Regions from separate parts of the Homo sapiens genome. Here region 2 is linked to region 1. Evidence: promoter capture Hi-C in 16 types of primary human blood cells and fetal thymus (Javierre and others, 2016). All regions are on one chromosome and are shown on one strand. The core of a region is centred on a gene start or on the middle of the fragment in contact, and the rest is flanking DNA. Distances in the headings are between cores, read along the strand shown.

The links. The method cuts DNA at HindIII sites, captures the fragments that hold promoters and counts their contacts. A CHiCAGO score of 5 or more calls a contact.
Region 2: the fragment with the promoter of NLRP11 here is called in contact with the fragment with the promoter of NLRP8 in region 1 in 1 of 17 cell types (erythroblasts); the score reaches 5.4 in erythroblasts.

The regions. Positions count from the first base shown.
Region 1 is chr19:55,945,478-55,949,816 of GRCh38, forward strand. NLRP8 (NLR family pyrin domain containing 8) reads left to right here and starts at 2,355. Exons shown (of 10, transcript NM_001433706.1): 1 at 2,355-2,792. The coding sequence starts at 2,426. The HindIII fragment of the contact is 8,931 bases long and covers 1-4,339 here.
Region 2 is chr19:55,830,034-55,834,372 of GRCh38, forward strand. NLRP11 (NLR family pyrin domain containing 11) reads right to left here and starts at 1,966. Exons shown (of 10, transcript NM_001394894.2): 1 at 1,930-1,966. The HindIII fragment of the contact is 8,930 bases long and covers 532-4,339 here.

The sequences.
Region 1 (4,339 bases), core at 1,105-3,604:
AGCAGTGAATGAAAGTAAAGCAAAACGATGATGTAACTGCCAACATCCTCCCTTGCCCTGCAAATTTCTTTTCTTTTCCTTTCTTTCTTTCTTTTCTTTTTTTTTTTTTTTTTTTTTTTTTTGAGACAGGGTCTTGCTCTATCACCCTGGCTGGAGTGCAGTGGCATGATATCCACTCATTGCAACCTCTGCCTCCTGGGTTCAAGCAATTCTCCTGCCTCAGCCTCCCGAGTAGCTGGGATTACAGGCACCCACCACCACGCCCAGCTACTTTTTGTGTTTTTAATAGAGGCAGGGTTTCACCATGTTGGCCAGGCTGGTCTGGAACTCCTGGCCTGAAGTGATCCACCTGTCTTGGCCTCCCAAAGTGCTGGGATTACAGGCGTGAGCCACCGCACCCAGCCAGTCCTGCAAATTTCTTAAAGCTGCAGCTCACTGTGGCTGGAACGTGGTCAGCAATGGTCATGGAATAAGTAGAGGTAGAAAATGTGTGACTGTGTTAGGCTCCTCCATGCAGCGCCACCCACTGGACGGAAGGAGCACTAGCAAGAGTCAGCCACCCAGGAGCATATCACCTTTGTCCTGGGACCAAGCCCAGCTACTCTGGACCCAAGGGAGGACTGAGTCAATTAAACAAGTTTATCCAGATGTTTGGGTGTCACATAAGTTATAAGAGGGAGAAGTGTTAAAGAAGAAGCTATTGGCCAGGTGCAGTGGCTCACACCTGTAATCCCAGCACTTTGGGAGGCTGAGGTGGGTGGATCACTTGAGGTCAGGAGTTTGAGACCAGCCTGGCCAACATAGTGAAACCCCATCTATACTAAAAATACAAAAAAATTAGCCAGGCATGGTGGCAGGTGCCTGTAATCCCAGCTACTCAGGGGGCTGAGGCAAGGGAATTGCTTGAACCAGGGAAGTGGAGGTTGCAGTGAGCCGAGATCACACCACTGCACTCCAGCCTGGGAAACAGAGTGAGACTCTGTCTCTAAGTAAATAAATAAATAATAAATAAATAAACTATTATTGGAAGTTGGGGCAGGGGGGACAAAAATACACCCATGATCCTTTTTATTTTATTTCTTTTTTACATTTCTTTTAGATACAGGGGTACATGTGCAGGTTTGTTATATAGGCAAACGTGTTATGGGGGTGGGTTTGTTGTACAGGTTATCTCATCACCCAGGTATTAATCCCAGTACCCATTAGTTATTTTTCCTGATCTTCTCCCTCCTCCCACCCTCCAGCCTCTAGCAGACTCCAGTGTGTGGTGTTCCCTCTATGTGTCCATGTGTTCTCATCGTTTAGCTACCACTTATAAATGAGCACATGTGGTATTTGGTTTCCTGTTCCTGTGTTAGTTTGCTAAGGAATAATGGTCTCTGGCTCCATCTATGTTCCTGCAAAGGTCATGATCTCATTCTTTTTTATGGCTGCATAGTATTCCATGGTGTTTATGTACCACATTTTTTTATCCGGTCTATCACTGATGGGCATTTAGGTTGATTCCATGACTTTGCTATTGTGAGTAGTGCTGCAATGAACATACACAGGAATGTGTCTTTATAATAGAATGATTTATATTCCTTTGGATATATATCCAGTAATGGGATTGCTGAGTTGAATGGTAGTTCTCTTTTTAGGTCTTTGAGGAGTTGCCCCACTGTCATCCAGAGTAGTTGAACTAATTTACACTCCCACACACAGAGTATAAGTGTTCCTTTTTCTCTGCGACTTCACCAGCATCTGTTATTGCTTGACTTTTTAATAATCACCATTCTGACTGGTGTGAGATGACATCTCGTTGTGGTTTTGATTTGCATCTCTCTAATACATGATCCATTTTTTAAGAATACAGCATCTGTTATTGCTTGACTTTTTAATAATCACCATTCTGACTGGTGTGAGATGACATCTCGTTGTGGTTTTGATTTGCATCTCTCTAATACATGATCCATTTTTTTAAGAATAAAAACTTTGTTGAATTTGAGATCACTTTTAATCTAATGGAGCCTTCTAACCAACCATATATTTTCTAGATTTTAGCTTCACTGAATTATTTTACCTGCTTCTAATTTTTCTTTTCGCTAAACCTTTTGTGAAGGCTTTGATATTTTGCTTGCCTCTTCCCCAAAAGAAGTCATGGAGAATAGAAACTACAAACAATCCATTAGTCTAATGGACTAATCCCAAACATTCCATGCATCTTCAGTTTTTCCATAGGGCAGAGAATCTTTGAGGAAAGGAGGTAAAGGGAGTACCCGGCACGCAGAATACCTGCCAAGTAAGCATTACACGAATCTGTTTTCTTGGGTAGTGTTTTCATCTTCTTGTTTTATTGTTTTATGTCTCTGCAGGTCTCGTGTTTCTCTCTTCCAATCGGTTGTCTTTATCGTGGACACTGAGGTGTTCTCTGCCTTGACTAAAGATGAGTGACGTGAATCCACCCTCTGACACCCCCATTCCCTTTTCATCCTCCTCCACTCACAGTTCTCATATTCCGCCCTGGACATTCTCTTGCTACCCCGGCTCCCCATGTGAAAATGGGGTCATGCTGTACATGAGAAACGTGAGCCATGAGGAGCTACAACGGTTCAAGCAGCTCTTACTGACTGAGCTCAGTACTGGCACCATGCCCATCACCTGGGACCAGGTCGAGACAGCCAGCTGGGCAGAGGTGGTTCATCTCTTGATAGAGCGTTTCCCTGGACGACGCGCTTGGGATGTGACTTCGAACATCTTTGCCATTATGAACTGTGATAAAATGTGTGTTGTAGTCCGCAGAGAGATAAATGGTGAGTGTTGATCTGGTGGATAAAGTGGGGGTGGGCTTGGCTGCTGGGCAGCTAAACTACTCTAGTCACCACCCCTATCACTTATTGGCCTTCTGAGCAAGAAAGCAAACAGTGGAGGAAGATAATGGATCTAACCCAAAGGCAAAGACTGTCATACGGGCATTTTTTTAATTTTATTTTTCTGAGATGGGGTTTCGCTCTTCTTGCCCAGGCTGAAGTGCAATGGCACAATCTCGGCTCACTGCAAACCCCGCCTCCCAGGTACAGGTGATTCTCCTGCCTCAGCCTCCTGAGTAGCTGGGATTACAGGCACCCACCACCATGCCTGGGTAATTTTTTTTTATTTTTAGTAGAGACGGGGTTTCACCATGTTGGCCAGGCTGGTCTCGAACTACTGACCTCAGGTAATCCGCCTGCCTTGGCCCCCCAAAGTGCTGGGATTGCAGGTGTGAGCCACTGTGCCCAGCCCATATGGGCCTATTTTTTAAAAACTTAACTGAATACTGCTTATATGAGGTGAACGTTAAATGAAGTCATAGAGAAGTAGGAAGTAAAATAGTGGAAAAGCATATGCTATGGAAACAGCAGAAGACAGCTGGTATAGCTATGGTGATGTCAGGAGTGCTATATTTAAAGCAAGAAGGTTAAACACTTTAAAAGGCCATTTCGCAGCAACAAAGGGTGAATCCCACTGGAGGATATTGTAATCCAAAACCTCATCTTCAATATGAATAAAGCAGAGCTGGACTACAGTCATCCCCTTATCCAAGGTTTTGCTTTCTGAAGTTTGGGTTGATCATGGCCAAAAATAGATGAGTACAGTACACTGAGATATTCTGAGACAGAGAGAGACCACATTTACATACCGTTTATGATAGTATAGTATTATAATTGTTCTATTTCATTATTATTGTTAATCTCTTACTGTACCTAATTTATAATTTAAACTTTTATCATAGATCGGTATGTATTTTTTTTCTATTTTGAGATGGAGTCTTCATTCTGTCACACAGGCTGGAGTGCAGTGGTGTGATCTCAGCTCACTGCAACCTCCACCTCCCAGGTTCAAGCAATTCTCATGCCTCAGCCTCCCCAGTAGCTGGGATTACAGGTGCGCACCACCACACCCAGCTAATTTTTGTATTTTTAGTAGAAACGGGGTTTCACCATGTTGGCCAGGCTGGTTTCAAACTCCTGACCTTAGGTGATTTGCCTGCCTCGGCCTCCCAAAGTGCTGGAATTACAGGTGTGAGCCACCACACCCGGCCTAGATATGTATTTAAAAAAATCAGTATCCACATTGTTCAGTACTATCCACAGTTTCAGATATCCACCGGGGATCTTGGAACATAGACCCTGCAGAGAAGGGGGGACTACTGTATTAAAGGAAAATACACCAATCCAGAAACATGATAGGAGCTGTGAACCCGCCTCTCCCAATAGCTGATATTACAAGTAGTCAGTCTCATTGGTAAGAATGGAGAAAACGTCAGCTCCACAGTTTTAAACATAAACACAGGAGAGTGGGTGCCTTACGTCTCCTTAGC
Region 2 (4,339 bases), core at 716-3,215, 120 kb before region 1:
AAATTCTCCAATATATTTATTTTTGAAACTTCATGTATAAGTGGACACATGCAGCTCAAACCTGTATTGTTCAAGGGTCCACTGTAAATCTGTTTAACACAAGTGTTTTCTTCTTTTAAATCTTGTATCTAGGTGTTTTTCCCCCCTAAGTGAACACAAGTAGATTAGGGATTAGTAAGTTAAGCCTCACCAAGTCCAACCCTTCCCCAAATTCCCAAACTCTTCCCTCCTTTGACTTCTATTTCACCATTGCCTTTGAGCCCCATCCTTGTAACTGAGAGACTTCCGAGTTCAGGAGTCAACTGTATTTCTTTCTAGTGATATGTTTGTCTAATAAAGTAGTTACCTTTAGACTCAAACAGTCCATATTTCCCTAAACACTGTTGTATGAGCTTTGCTTGTGTTCTTTAAGGTATGATTTTTAAGTGGTTTGGTAATAATGCACCAGAAATATTTAATCATGACCCTCTCAGTCTTTAGGTGTTTCTGATTTCATACTGTGACATAGGATCATTCAAGGAAAATTCCATAAGCTTTTTGCCTAGTGATGGCTTCTTAGCTTCCTAAAAAAAAAAAAAAAAATGCAACGTTGAGTGTGTGTTAAAAGCTCTTATTACTTTTCCCAAAGGGCAAAATACTTTTTTTACACCAACCTTTTGTACACTCATCTGACCACACTGCAATGCTTTTTAAGTTGGTTGCTGGAATTTGCTGTTGACTGAACTATAAGGTGCCAACTGAACTATGAGGTGATCTCCAACACCTGCAAAAAAGCTGACACTACAGCATTGCACGTCCCAAGTCGGCGTTGCATCAGATTAGCTGATCACCGCACAGTTGGGCACTTCAAGCACCTGTGACCAGACTTTCTCAAGCACTGAGACACAGGGGAATCACCTGGGGAGTTATCAAAAACCCCAGTGTCCCGAAATACAGACACTGATTAGAGACTTTGGAGGTTGGGCCCAGGAACCAGTATATTGTTCCAATCCCCCCTGTAAATTCAGCACTCAAAGTTAAGAATCAATTTGTAAACTAAAAATAACATGTTAAGACCCACCGCCCCACCCCCCCCATCCCCCCCACCCCCCCGCCCACAACCAACTGAGCGGACCCCCTCCTGGCCAAGATACTTGAAAAACAGAATCATTGACTATGGCAGGAAGGGAGGTCAAACCTCCTCCTATCTCCTTCCTTTCGGAGCCTAGGCACAACTGACGGGCATTAACATTAAAATAGAGCTCAGGACCGGGTGCAGGAGCTCACGCCTGTAATCCCAGCACTTTGGGAGGTCAAGGTGGGCACATTACTTGAGGTCAGGAGTTCGAGACCAGCCTAGACAACATGGCGAAACCCCATCTCTACTAAAAATACAAAAATTAGCTACGTATGCTGGCGTGTGCCTGTCATTCCTGCTACTTGGGAGTCTGAGGTGGGAGAGTCACTTGAACCCAGGAGACAGAGGTTGCAGTGCGCTGAGATCACACCACTGCACGCCAGCCTTGGCGACAGAGCGAGACTCCGTCTCAAAATAAATAAATAAATAAAAATATTCTTTTCATCTCTAACACTTTATACATCACATAGAAGAATAGCATCCATAAGGCTATGATGACGAGTTAGTTAGGTTTAAACACTCCACCCACAGTGCACATACACTTCAAAACATCATGCTGCACACACTACATGCAATTTTATCTGTCAACTTAAATAAGTTTATCAAAAAAAAAAAAAGCATGACCCAAATTTACTCATGTGAACTTGAAAAAGGTAACAGAGCTTGGCCTGCCCTTAGGAACTTTAGTCATTTTATTCCCCAATCATATTATTTCCAGCTCCTAACCAAAGAGAAAGCTAAAGAACCAATGTAACATAATAAAAAAAGACCTTAAAATCCAAACAAACAAATCGGCCAGAAAGGTAACTCACCAACCCTGCCACCAGGTCTCCTTGGCTGGTCGAAAGCAAACAAGCTAGGCAGCGGGAAGAAAAAGGCGGTGCCTGCCCGGTGATTAGCCAGCTGACTCCTCTCTTGATTGGCCAAGGTGGGTTCTTGATGACCTTCGCGATGGAGGGGAAATACTGCTGCACCTGCGTGTTTCTGCCCAGATGCCCCAATTGTCTTTCTTCACCCAGGACTAAACAGGGTCTGCTGATTAGGAGACGGTCCACACCCCGTTTATGATGTTGGAGCTCATGGGGCATCTGACCAAGAACCTCCAAAACAATTGACTTAGGCAGTGCCGGGGGAAAGAAGTTTTCCACCAATAATCTCAATTTCGGATAACCATCTATACAGTAAGCTCCATGAGGGGAATACGCTGTCTAGTCTACATAACCACCTGGCAAGGATCCTTTCAAATCTGAGGGAGGCCATAAATATTTGTGGAACAAATGCAACCAAAGGCATGTTTAACAGGTGATAGAATTTGCGGAGGCACGTCCTAGATCCTCCACCCGGGGGGCCCGTCTTGGCTGCCTATTGGAATCACCTGGAGACCTCTAGTGAAGACTGATAGCTCAGTCCTATGCGCAGGTATCTGCTTTAGTCAGGAGGGAGTATGCTCTGGGTATGACTGATAGAGCTCCTCATATTGAACAGATTACAGAAGAATAGGGGCATCTTCATAGGTGCAAAAGGGGAAATATAAAAGAGTCTATATCTATTCATGGTTTTAGATGTATCTTTGTAAGTTAGGAAATAAAAGAATTTCCTTCACCCAGTAAAGGGTTCCAAAAAAGCAAGAGCAAACAAAAATCTCATAATGGACGGGAAAGTGATGAAAGAATACCTTTTACAATAAGATACAAGATAAACAAGGCCTCCGTCACCACTCTTATTTCAACATAGTGCACCTGTTCACTGGGACAAGAAAACGGATCTGAAAGAAAGAGGCGAAATTATCATATTGGAGATAATTTGAATATCCATGCAAACTCTCTCCCCTTAAATCTATTGATAAATTGTTAGGATTCAAAGCAGCTTTGGTGAATATAAATCAACATACAAATCTGATTGTGTTTCTCTAAAAAAAAACTAATTGGAATTTAAAATTTTAAAGGATGCCACATGCAGTTCCAAGAAAAATATAAACTAGAAATAATTCTTATAAGAGATTGTAAATCTTATTGAATGATATACAATGTTATTGCCATATACAAAATCCTTAAAAATGAAGGATAACATTACATTCTTGTACAGGAATTATTATTATGAAGATGTTAATATGCTCCCAAATAGACCTTTATATTCAGTAAAACAATAAAATCCCAATAGAAATTTTCATATCAAAATATAATTCTGAAATGTATGTGGAAAATAGAAGGGACTAGTACAAGCCAAGAGACGCCTGAAGCACATAGGTGGGTGGGAGGTGGGAATGATGATTGAGTTGGACCTACCCTATAAAGATTTAATTTAAAAACTATGGTAATTAAGACTTATTGGTTGGCCGGGGGCGGTGGCTCATGCCTGTAATCCCAGCACTTTGGGAGGCTGAAGCGGGCAGATCAGAAGGTCAGAAGATCGAGACCATCCTGGCTAACACGGTGAAACCCCCGTCTCTACCAAAAATATAAAAAAATTTAGCCAGGTGTGGTGGCGGGCGCCTGTAGTCCCAGCTACTCGGGAGGCTGAGGCAGGAGAATTACTTGAGCCCGGGAGGAGGAGCTTGCAGTGAGCCGAGATCAGGCCACCGCACTCCAGCCTGGGCGACAGAGCGACTCCGTCTCAAAAAAAAAAAAAAAAAAAAAAAAAAGACTTATTGGCACACGGATGAACAAATAATAGTGAAAAAAACATAGAACCCAGAAACCAATGTAGGCAAATACGAAAAGCTGGTTTATAACAGATTTCTGGGCAGTGGCGTAGGTGAACTATTCATTAAATGGAGCTGGTGCCATTTGTATTTAAATGAAAAAAAAAAAATGGATCCCTTCTCCCTACCTTAGAGAAAAATAATTACAAGTGACTTAATACTTCTGTGTGAAATTCAAAACTCTATCATATTTTAAAAGGCAATATTAGATATCTTCATGAGTTGGAGTAGGGAATGATTTTTGTCAACAAGACCTCACATTTATAAAACATAAAGTACATTTTGATCAATTTGATTTCATTTAAAATAAAAACTCTTCAGTGAATGGTTCTTATATAACAAAAGCTACAAACCACAAACTAGGAGGAGATATATGAAAATACGTGCATCACACATAACTGACCAAACCACTTTTTCAGAAAAGGTAAAGCACTTCTTCATGCAAATAAAAACAGAACACAACCAATAGAAATACAAGGAAAACAATGAAAAGGTATTTCACAAAAGAGGCAACAAATGGC